3 separate regions of the Homo sapiens genome follow, and all the other regions are linked to region 2. The links are contacts of gene promoters, found by promoter capture Hi-C in blood cells and fetal thymus (Javierre and others, 2016). All regions are on one chromosome and are shown on one strand. Each heading gives the region's core, a stretch centred on a gene start or on the middle of the fragment in contact. The rest is flanking DNA. Distances are from core to core; before and after follow the strand shown. Region 1 has its middle 26 kb from the start of HEMK2. Region 2 holds the start of ADAMTS1 (ADAM metallopeptidase with thrombospondin type 1 motif 1). Region 3 holds the start of LTN1 (listerin E3 ubiquitin protein ligase 1).

What was found. The method cuts DNA at HindIII sites, captures the fragments that hold promoters and counts their contacts. A CHiCAGO score of 5 or more calls a contact.
Region 1: a fragment that was not itself captured here is called in contact with the fragment with the promoter of ADAMTS1 in region 2 in 1 of 17 cell types (megakaryocytes); the score reaches 5.6 in megakaryocytes.
Region 3: a contact is called between the fragment with the promoter of LTN1 here and the fragment with the promoter of ADAMTS1 in region 2, in 4 of 17 cell types (fetal thymus, megakaryocytes, erythroblasts and 1 more). The highest score is 13.3, in fetal thymus.

Annotation. Positions count from the first base shown.
Region 1 is chr21:28,909,315-28,912,514 of GRCh38, forward strand. No RefSeq gene overlaps it. Among named protein-coding and RNA genes, the nearest start is that of HEMK2, 26 kb to the left of the region's middle. The HindIII fragment of the contact is 657 bases long and covers 1,027-1,683 here.
Region 2 is chr21:26,843,843-26,846,955 of GRCh38, forward strand. ADAMTS1 (ADAM metallopeptidase with thrombospondin type 1 motif 1) reads right to left here and starts at 1,567. Exons shown (of 9, transcript NM_006988.5): 1 at 383-1,567. The coding sequence starts at 1,112. RefSeq lists enhancers at 1,751-2,351, 2,352-2,951. The HindIII fragment of the contact is 3,865 bases long and covers 1-2,160 here.
Region 3 is chr21:28,990,778-28,994,216 of GRCh38, forward strand. It overlaps LTN1 (listerin E3 ubiquitin protein ligase 1), which reads right to left and starts at 2,100. Exons shown (of 30, transcript NM_015565.3): 1 at 1,987-2,100. The coding sequence starts at 2,028. LOC105372766 (a long non-coding RNA gene) reads left to right here and starts at 2,326. Exons shown (of 3, transcript XR_007067835.1): 1 at 2,326-2,354; 2 at 2,793-2,904; 3 at 3,005-3,404. RefSeq lists enhancers at 1,905-2,014, 2,325-2,384. The HindIII fragment of the contact is 7,723 bases long and covers 1-3,254 here.

The DNA of each region.
Region 1 (3,200 bases), core at 105-2,604, 2.1 Mb after region 2:
GTGGTTGACTGTGCCCCCTAGTGTTTTTTATTTTTTATTTTTTTAGACAGAGCCTCGCTCTGTTGCCCAGGCTGGAGTGCAGTGGTGCGACCACAGCTCACTGCAACCTCCGCCTCCCAGGTTCAAGTGATTCTCCTGCCTCAGCCACCTGAGTAACTGGGATTACAAGTGTGCACCACCACACCCAGATAATTTTTGTATTTTTAGTAGAGATGGGGTTTCACCATATTGGCCAGGCTGGTCTTGAACTCCTGACCTCAAGTGATCTGCTCACCTCAGCCTCCCATAGTGCTGAGATTACAGGTGTGAGCCACCACGCCCAACCTGCCCCCTAGTATTTTAAGTACAGTTGCTGCCTCATTTGATTCTCACAATTCCATGAGGTAGGAACTATTAATATTTCCATTTTGAAGATGGGGAAACTGAGGCTTAGAAAGATTTAAGTAACTTTTCCAGTGTTCCCCAGTGGTGATCCTGGGATTTGTAGCAAAGTCAGCTGGCCCTGAAATCTGTTCTCTTGACCACTTTGTTCTGTTGCCTCTGCATACTAAGCTGTCTTCTCCCTCAGAGTAAAATACACTCTTTTCCTGTTTTTATAACCCAAATCAAGAGGTGCTTATAATGGCCTCACATCTGTGATATAAACAACAACGGGCTGGAAAGTTTTGGAGAGTCTGAACCAGATGTGGGACTAACGCTGCCCTTGAGGGATAGGAAGGATTTGAACAGGTGAGAGGTAGAGCTCCTCTCACTTAGACTTCTGGGAGAAGATGGCTTGAAAATCCTCTCCATAATATTGTTATATTATAATCTCATAAAATATTATAGTTATTGTCGTTCATCTTTAACCCAGCTTCATCATCTTAAACAGCTTGTGAGGGTGAGCATACAGACTTGTTCATATTTCTACACAAGCTCAGCACATAGCATGGCACCTTCTCTTTGATTTGATTGAAATTGAATTATCATTGATGGTAAGCTGGATGGGCTTGGGAAAGTATTCTTGCCAAACCTTGAATTCCGATAAGCTTTTCTTTTTCATGTTTTTCTCCAGCCCTTCCTCTGCTTTTGAAGAAGTCCTAAAGAAAAAAAGAACACAACTCTTCATGTGAAATCATTTTTGACGTCTTTGGAGATTTCTCTAGGTTCTGGCCCAAGCCTGACTGTTGTTCTGTTCCACCTACATTCTTCCTACACTTGAGGGATTTGAAAAAATGTACTTAATGATTTGGACTTATTTTAATTTTCTCTAACTTATTTATTTTCTCTGAGGTTAAGAACATTTTGTAAATTCACTAACCAAAGATATTTTGCACACGATGAAAGAGCTTTTAAAAAACATTGGATCGGAGTTAGCATATTTCCCCAAGGAAAGGAAATACACAAACTAGTCACATGATTGATTGAAAAAAACAAAGCAAGAGAACTAAAATATCCTCCTGAACTAGTTCCTAAGGTACACTCTTTTTCCATTCTGACACAACAACTAGTCTGCACTGTTTGTTTTTTGAAGTGAAACTTTGGTGGGAAAATTTATAACCAAAATTTCTGTATATTTCACACTAACATTCTTTCTCTTGCCAGACATTTTGCTGTGAACTCAGGCATTTATCCCCATATGTTTTCCAGCCTGTTCAGGTGTTCATCTCTCTTGTTCTCAGTAAATACTAAATTTTCAAGTCAAGCTTCTGGAAAGGTAGTTTGGTCACCATGTTTTTGTAGAGAGTGATTATAATGCACATTTTCTTTCATTTGTTCATAATAATGAACACAAACCCCTGGTGTGAATTTCACTTTATTAGTAGAGTCTTTACAGTCTGAGGATCTGATATTAGTAAAGAAGTCAATTTTGAAAATGTTGGCTATCTGAAGAAGAGTGACAAATCATGAATGACCTAATTGATATTGACAAAGCTATTGAAATTGTTAAACTGACAGACCAAAATTGACAGATAGACCAAAATTGATAAATTGATAAACATATTTTTGAGCAGTGACTATATATATGCAAAGCCAAACTTCCATTTGAAATTTGCTCTCTACTAAACAGAAGCAAAGATGTAGGGGCTTGGAGTAGGCACCTAGTTAGCGATATCATTCCTTATTCCCGCCAGTAAATCACTGACAAGAATAAACTCTTCCCATCCGTTTCCTCTTTCTAACTTACTGTAACTGGGCAGTACTGTAACTGGACTGATCTCACACCCAGATCAGTCAATTTTTATAACTGACATTTTCTAATGCATTCAGCTCCATTACCAGTGCCACCAACTATTACTTCTGATTTACTTTGGAATTAATTCAAACTTTTTTCTCCAGATTTCATCATGCTAAGAAACACTTCTCATGCCTGCAACACCTAGTATCTATTTCCGTAAGTCAAATTTAAAAATATTCATAGACTTATCTTTGCCCCAATGTCAGTAGCTGTCAGGGACTCAGGAGACTCTAAAGATTCATGAATAATAGTAGTAGAAGTAGCAATCGTAATAGTAAAAGTAGTAAAAATAGCAGAAATTATATTATTTACTGGATGCTTTCTACCCAGGCACTGTGCTAAGCACTTTATTTTCAGTTACGATTTCATTTTACAGAAGAAGAAACCAAGGCTCAGAGAGGTGAAATAACCTTATACAGTCCAAGTGGTAGAGCCAGAAAATTCATTGTTTTTTAAAAGTTTAATAGAACTCACCAATGAAACCATCTGGGTGGGCTTTTTTTGAGAGGGGAAGTTTTTGACTATAATTTCAATTTCCCACTTTTAGTTGAATAGTTTGAAATTTTTTCTCTGGGCTTATTTATTTTTGAGATGGAGTCTCACATGGTTGCCCAGGCTGTAGTGCAGTGGTGTGATCTTGGCTAACTGCAACCTCCACCTACCGGGGTCGGGCGATTCTCCTGCCTCTTTTTGTATTTTTAGTAGAGGCAGAGTTTTGTCGTGTTGACCAGGCTGGTCGTGAACTCCTGACCTTAGGTGATCCACTGGCCTCTTCCTCCCAAAGTGCTGGAATTACAGGCGTGAGCCACTATGCCTGGCCATATTTATTTGCTTCTATTGAGTTCTTATATTTTCAATGCCCTTATTTCCCCTGAACTAAATAATTTAGTGGGCTTTATGTCACTTTGTTCTCTTTCCCACTGCTATCTCACATCTTTTGCTTATACTGATAGGCTTATCTTTGCCCCAATGTCAGTAGCTG
Region 2 (3,113 bases), core at 317-2,816:
CAACCCGCACAAAAGGCGCACACAAAATCATTAAAAAGAAATACACAGAGTGGAAAGAACTCGCACAAGCTCCAACTCGCTAAAGGTGGAAGGAGTCAGGTTACAAACTCTCCCTCCCCGGCCTAAATGCTTTGCTTTAGTTTGCAGAAAATCGTTTGTCAGTTTTTTTCTTGGTTATTCATTATTCGGGCAAATGCAAGTATGTTTTCTAGCTGAGTTCACCAATCCAAACCTCAAACCACATTCCTCCACTCCAGGCCTCCGTTCTGTCCGCGGACTTATGATCCTGCCTGCCAGCAGGAGTCTACCCTGAAGTCGCGTGGGATAGATAAAGTGAGGAGAGGAGGATGAATGGACAGACAAACGAGAGCAATTCTTCTACCTGTGGGCTGTCCTACGCCTTGCAGTGCCGGGTCCTGCGGCGACCACTGAGCCCCTTCGTCCTCGCCCTCAGTCCCTTCGTCCTCGTCTTCGGTCTCCGCTTTCCCAGTCGGCCGGGGCTCGTCGTCCACGACCCCGCACGTGCCGCCGACGTCGCCCTGCCGATTCCGCCGCAGGAGGTGGAACTGTAGTGGTGCCGGCGGCTTCTCCCCTGGGGCGGCGGTGGCGAGGCGCTCGCTGGCGGCGGGCAGCGGCTGGATGAAATACGCCTCCCCCAGCAGGTAGAAGGCGCCGCGCACGCCCTCGCAGAGGCTGAGGGCGGCAGCCGAGCTGGGATCGCCATTCACGGTGCCGGAGTAGAAGCAGTGCGCCAGGTCGGTTTCCGGAAGCGGCGTCTCGGACCCGGATTTGCGCCCCACGTTCTGGAGCGTGAAGCCGGGCGCCAAAAAGCTGCTGTCGGGCCGCAGCTCCAGATCCAGCTGCTGGTCAAAGGCGTGCAGGCGGAGGCGCGTGGTCCCGTGTCCCGGGGCGCGCTCCAGCTCCGGCACCACTAGCTCCTCGTCCTCCTCGGAGGGGCGCCCGAGTGCGTCCGACACGGCCAGTAGCGCCGCGGCGAGCAGCAGCAGCGTGGGTACTGGCCCAAAGCTCCGAGACCCCGGAGCCCGCTCCGCGTTCCCCATGTCGCTGCCCAGCTTGCGCCTTCCGAACCCCTCGGGCACAGCTCGCTGCATTGGAGCCCCAGGAGACACCGCTCGTAGCAGCGCACGGAGCGAGGGACCTTTAGTTCGGGTCGGGAGAGCAAAGCCTCGTTGGCCTGCTCTGGATTGTTAAAATTAACAATTTCTATTATTCGTTGGAAGGGCGCGCAGAGCCGGCTACAGCCGAAGCTCCCGGAGTCACTAAAAGGAGGCGCTGCAGTTCTGCCGGCGCGCGGGAAGTTTTTCTTCCAGCGCAAAGTTGGAGACACTGAGAGGCAGGCGCAGGCAGAGTGGCTCTGCTGGGACAAGAAGCGCTCTGGGGCGCCTCCGGGGCTGAGGCAACGCGGAGATTGGTGCCTGGCGCCCCTCTTCGGCCTCCGCCTTGGCTGCGATGTTGCTCACTCTGCTCAGGGCTCTCCCCTCTCCGTCCGGTAGCGCACCCTGGCTTTGCAATAGCCCCTGGCTCGGAGCCGCTTTCCAGCGAGTGCAAGAACCGGGCAGCCGAGCGGTCCTTTTATAGTGGACCAGTGAAACCCCCACCCCCACCCCACTCCTCCCCTTTGGCCCTTTTCCATCCCAAAGACGCCGCCCCCGGCTCCGTTGGTGCTAAACCGCGCTCCGCGCTGCGGGCTCGGGAGGGGGAGGGGGCAGCCTCCGCGCTGGCTCCACGCCACTGCTCGTCAATCTAGGGGCGGAAGGGGCGCTGTGACCAGCACTTTGTACTGCTGGGGCCGCTCCAGGGAGAAGACTCTCCCTTCCACCGCTTTTCTCCCTCGCCGGTTTCCTGGACCACCCTTCCTCCCCACCGCCCGGTTGCGGTAACTCAGTTACCGCGCTGGGCTGCGGTTCCCAGGAGGGAGGGTTCGGTTGGAGAACGCAGTCCCTTCTTCAACATTTCCCTATCCTGGAGCTGCCCTGGGTCTCCTTCCCTCCTCCCTCAGTTCCCTCTTCCCCAATCTAGGAGATGAGCTAGGGCTACACTTTCTAGAAAAATACCTCACCCCACTTCTCCACCTTCCCAGCCTGCCAGGAGCTCCTTAGCCGCCGCCTGCTCTCTCTTCGCCCCAGCTTTTCTAGGGAAAGCTTGGCCCTGCGCTTCCCCCAGAAAGCATGCCTGGGTGAGGGGCCAGGTGACACTTCCTACGATCTGGATTTTAAAATATGTTTGCTTATGCCTTCACCCTCCACCAACCCCCACCCCGCACGCCACCTCTTCACCAGAGACGACTTTGTGAGGGCCCGGTTTCACATTTCTGGAATGGGTGATCTGGGACGCGGCTCAATTCCCTAGAGCATAAGGAGGGAATTGCGCTTTTTCTTCTTCATTCGAGAAATGATCGGCTCCCGCCAGTCTGCGTGCTTTCACTCAACAGCAGCTGCAAGCCCTAGGCCAGCGTCGCAGAAACGGCCAGGAACCCCACTTTCCTACCCGGGGGCCAGCAGCGATCGCTGGGGCTAGCAAGCGTGCAGAGGGGGAAAGAAGGAAATCGGCTTCCTTCCCGGACCCCTCCTTCCTCTTCCTACCAGGAAGGGAAAAGGCTATATCCGCGTTACGAAAGCGAGGAGAGGTCCACCAACAGGTCCTTAGGAAAAAAAACTGAGTGGCTCTTCTCTCCAAAAAGTGGGAGGGGCTCAAGGACCCAGAGGAAGGACGTGTTTCACAGGCGGAAAGCCGCGGGGACAATGGCGAGAGCGACCGCCCTAGCCCCGGGCGGACCCGCAACCCTCACACTCGCGCGCCCCCGCGTTAGTGCTCGAACTGGTCTCCGCCTTTCCGCCCCACTCCCGTCCGGTCTCTTGGTTGGCTCCAAGTAGATCTGGGTCCTTTCCTCGCTCCTCCCCAGATCTTCCCCACTTCAGTTGGCCCCAGCCAGAAGCGTCCCTTCTAGTTCTCCCACACGTCCCTCTTACAAGCTTTCTTTTCCGGATGCTTTCCAACTTCTTTTTTCCTAGCGAGATTGCTTACTTGAAAAACAAAAACAAAAACATTGCTTTCCACTCATCAGGAAAAATCAAATGAGCAAGAATGGCAGA
Region 3 (3,439 bases), core at 850-3,349, 2.1 Mb after region 2:
AACAAATGGCCCAGGCTCTTCCAAATTTTGTTAAAAAAGACACTCCTCTCCCCGCTTAAACAGTACTGAGAAACTGTCTAGATCAAAGAAACCCAAATGGTAACTAAATGGAATGAGTGATCCTTGACTGAATCTCAGATGTTAAAACGGTTTATCTTTTTAAAAAAGTCCCAGCCTGGGCAACATGGCAAAACTCTGTCCCTACAAAAATAAGCTAGCCGTGATGGCCTGTACCTGTAGTCCTAGCTACTGGAAAGGCTAAGCTGGGAGGATCACTTGAACCCGAGAGGCGGAGATTGCAGTGAGCCAAGTTCACGCCTCTGCACTCCAGCCTGGGTAACAGAGCCAGACTCTGTCCCCGAAAAAAAAAAAAAAAAGATTAGCCAGGAGTCCTAGCTACTAAGGAGGCTGAGGTGGGAGGACTGACCGCTTGAGCCCAAGAGGTTGACACTGCAGTGGGCCATGATCATACCACCACACTCCAGGTTTGGAGACAGAGCGACCCTGTCTTACAAAAAAAAAAAAAAGAAAAAAGAGAACATTATTGGGATAACTACAGAAGTCTAAATACAAGGCTGTATCCTGGATTACAGTATTATACAAAAGTCAAAGTTTCTGCATACTATAACCATTATTATAATTGCTGCAGGCTAGAAAATGGCATTGTTTTTAGAAGATACATGCTGATGTATTTAGGAGTTAAGAGTCCCGACTTCTGCAACTAACTCTTATAAGTTCAGAAAAATACATAAATTAAGAGAGAGAAAGCAAATGCAACCAAGTATTAGCAATTGGTAAATGTAGGTAAAGAGTATATGGGATGTCGTTCTAATATTCTTGCAACTTTTCCTCATAAGAACTTTTCAAATATAAAACATTTGAGAAAATCTGTTAAATAAAAAACATTAAAAGATGCAAGTAAAGTGCTTAGCACAGTAACACAACAGGTTGCTATAATTGTTAATACTGTTATTATCTTCCAAAACAGATTAAGTGACAGATCTAAGAAAATGTGACATTGAAATCACTAGAATTAACTACATCAGAAACAGGAAAAAAAAGCATTCTCATAAAATTGGACTGTGCTATAATAAATCTAACACCATAAAAAAATACCATTACAAAACCCCTCATCGTGTAGTTTTACACGAATCCACTTTAAGGTCGTCCTTAAGCAAGTACTTAGTGAGCGTCTATTAGGTGCCAGTCTGTTCTAGGTTCCGAGGATAAAAACATTTGCTTTCAAAATACTTACGTCCTAGTGAACCAAGACAATAAATGTCATAAATACAATGGAGTAAAATAAAGTAGGAAGAACATGGGAGTGGGGAAGGGCTACCAAGAGGGTGATCATGGGAGACCTCACTGAGGTGTCGAGAGCAAAGTTTGGAGCCACCTAACTGAAGAGCGTTGGGAGCCGGCCAGGTAGTCAAGGCACAGTGAAGAGATCAGTGTGGCTGGATGAAGTAAGCCAAGAGGAGGGAGCTGAAGATGGGACTGCAGATGGAAAGGGGTAACAGGCAGTCCAGAAACCAAATATACCATCCTAAGAGCTTTAGCTTAGGAGAAGCCACTGTAGGTAGCAAAGGAGAGGCACAATCTGCGGTAACCTCCACAGTGGATTCACTTTAACATTCTCCCAACTCTCCTTCTTCCCAGCGCCGCCCTCCCCCAACCAACCCGCTACCTCGGCCAGATCACCTTCCAGTGAACCTGACACATTATCATTTCTTCATGAATATTATGGGTGTGTGCTCGGATGAGGACAGCTCTGGCATGGTACATCTTTTCTCTCACGATTCCCCAATCTGCTCAGAGATAACACAAACCGCTCTCAGGGACGCACACACAACAGAGAGGTCACACTCGACAGGGAAACACACGCCTCCCTACAGCCGCGCTCCACACACCCTCCAGCAACGCGCTGGGCGGAGCCAGCCGCCTCGAAGCGAGGCTCCCGGGTCGGCCGAGCCAGCCCCCGCTCACCCTCAGGTTCCCTTTAGTTCGCTGCTTGTTCTTCCCGCCCATGGTCGCGGTTGCAGCTGTACTCTGAGCACTCAGACCCCGGTTGACACGTCCGGGACACAACTTCCGGCTTCTGGCGGCGGAAGAGGACACCCTGTAATAACTTCCCCCGGGCCCTTTTCCGCCACCCACCCTGTCCATTTGCTGCCCCACTTCCGCTCCCGCCTCCCGCTGTGTCCCTGACCATCCGCCACCGGAGACGTCACAGCTAAAGCCACGCCTGTCTGAGTGATGTCATTCCTGGCCAATAGGAAGCCAAGCATTGGACCCGTGGCGCCAAATCCTGTCCTCCCCGCTTTCAGAAGCTAGGTTTGTTCCTTGCTTAGAGGGTAGGAAACTGGCGTGAATCATCAGAGGGGCAGTTTCACATAAGGGTAGCATTAGAATGTTATGGTAGAGGCTGTGGGAAGATGGGAGTGTTTTAGACTTCCAACATGATGCAATCATCAGTATCACCTGGGCGTTTTTTAGAAAAGGCCAACTCGGGCCCCTCAGAACTCCTGAATCAGATCCTGCATTTTGACAGTATTCCCAAGTCTTGTTAAAATTTGATTACTGCTGTAGGCACTATTCTCTCTAAATCTCCCCTCCCCGTCCCCTTTTATTCATATTGAAACTGTTAACGTGCAGTTTAGGAAAGAGGATAATGTGGGAGTCCCTATTAAAATTTGAAATGTACAAATCCTGTAACCCATTGATTGTGCGACTCAGAATCACACCAGAGAAACAAGTAAATGTGTGCTGGTTATTGTTTCTTGTCCACGCAGTCACCCTTTTATACTCAACTCCATGTTACTGGGGGGGCTTCTGCTAGATTCCACCAACAGGACGAACAAGAGGGAAACAAAGGCAAGAGGAAGAAGGGACTTGCTCCATTCTGTAAGCATCATGCCAGCAGCAGCTGCATTTTACCGTGGCAGGAGCAATTGCTTTAGCCAAAAGGTGGTTTTAATCTCTATCCTTTTTCCAACAATCACAGAATCAGCCTTATTGCACCCCTCAGAGATCACAGCAGCAGTCAGTGCTCTCCTCAGAGATCTGAATTCTACTTTCATGCGGCCCCTCCCCTGAGCTCCTGAGATAGCCAATGTTTGAGCCACCTCCTCAGAAGTTTGAGCCTCAACACCGTGGGATCCCTTCTTTGTGCTCCAGAGATCCAGTAACAGCCAGCCATCACCCTCTCTTCATTCTTCATAGGCCTGAACTAAGGTGTTCAGGGCCCTCCTTCAAGCTTTTAGGTTCTGATGACTCCAACCACTTCTTTTGTTCCATCCTTTCCTAGCTCTAGGAATGGTAGCTGCTACCTGCAGTGATTACCTGTTACCTTTTATAATTCCTTTTGACCAATTTCCCATATTAAAATATTTCTCAATAACTAATGTGATTTCTGTTTTCCTGACTGGACCCTGATTTT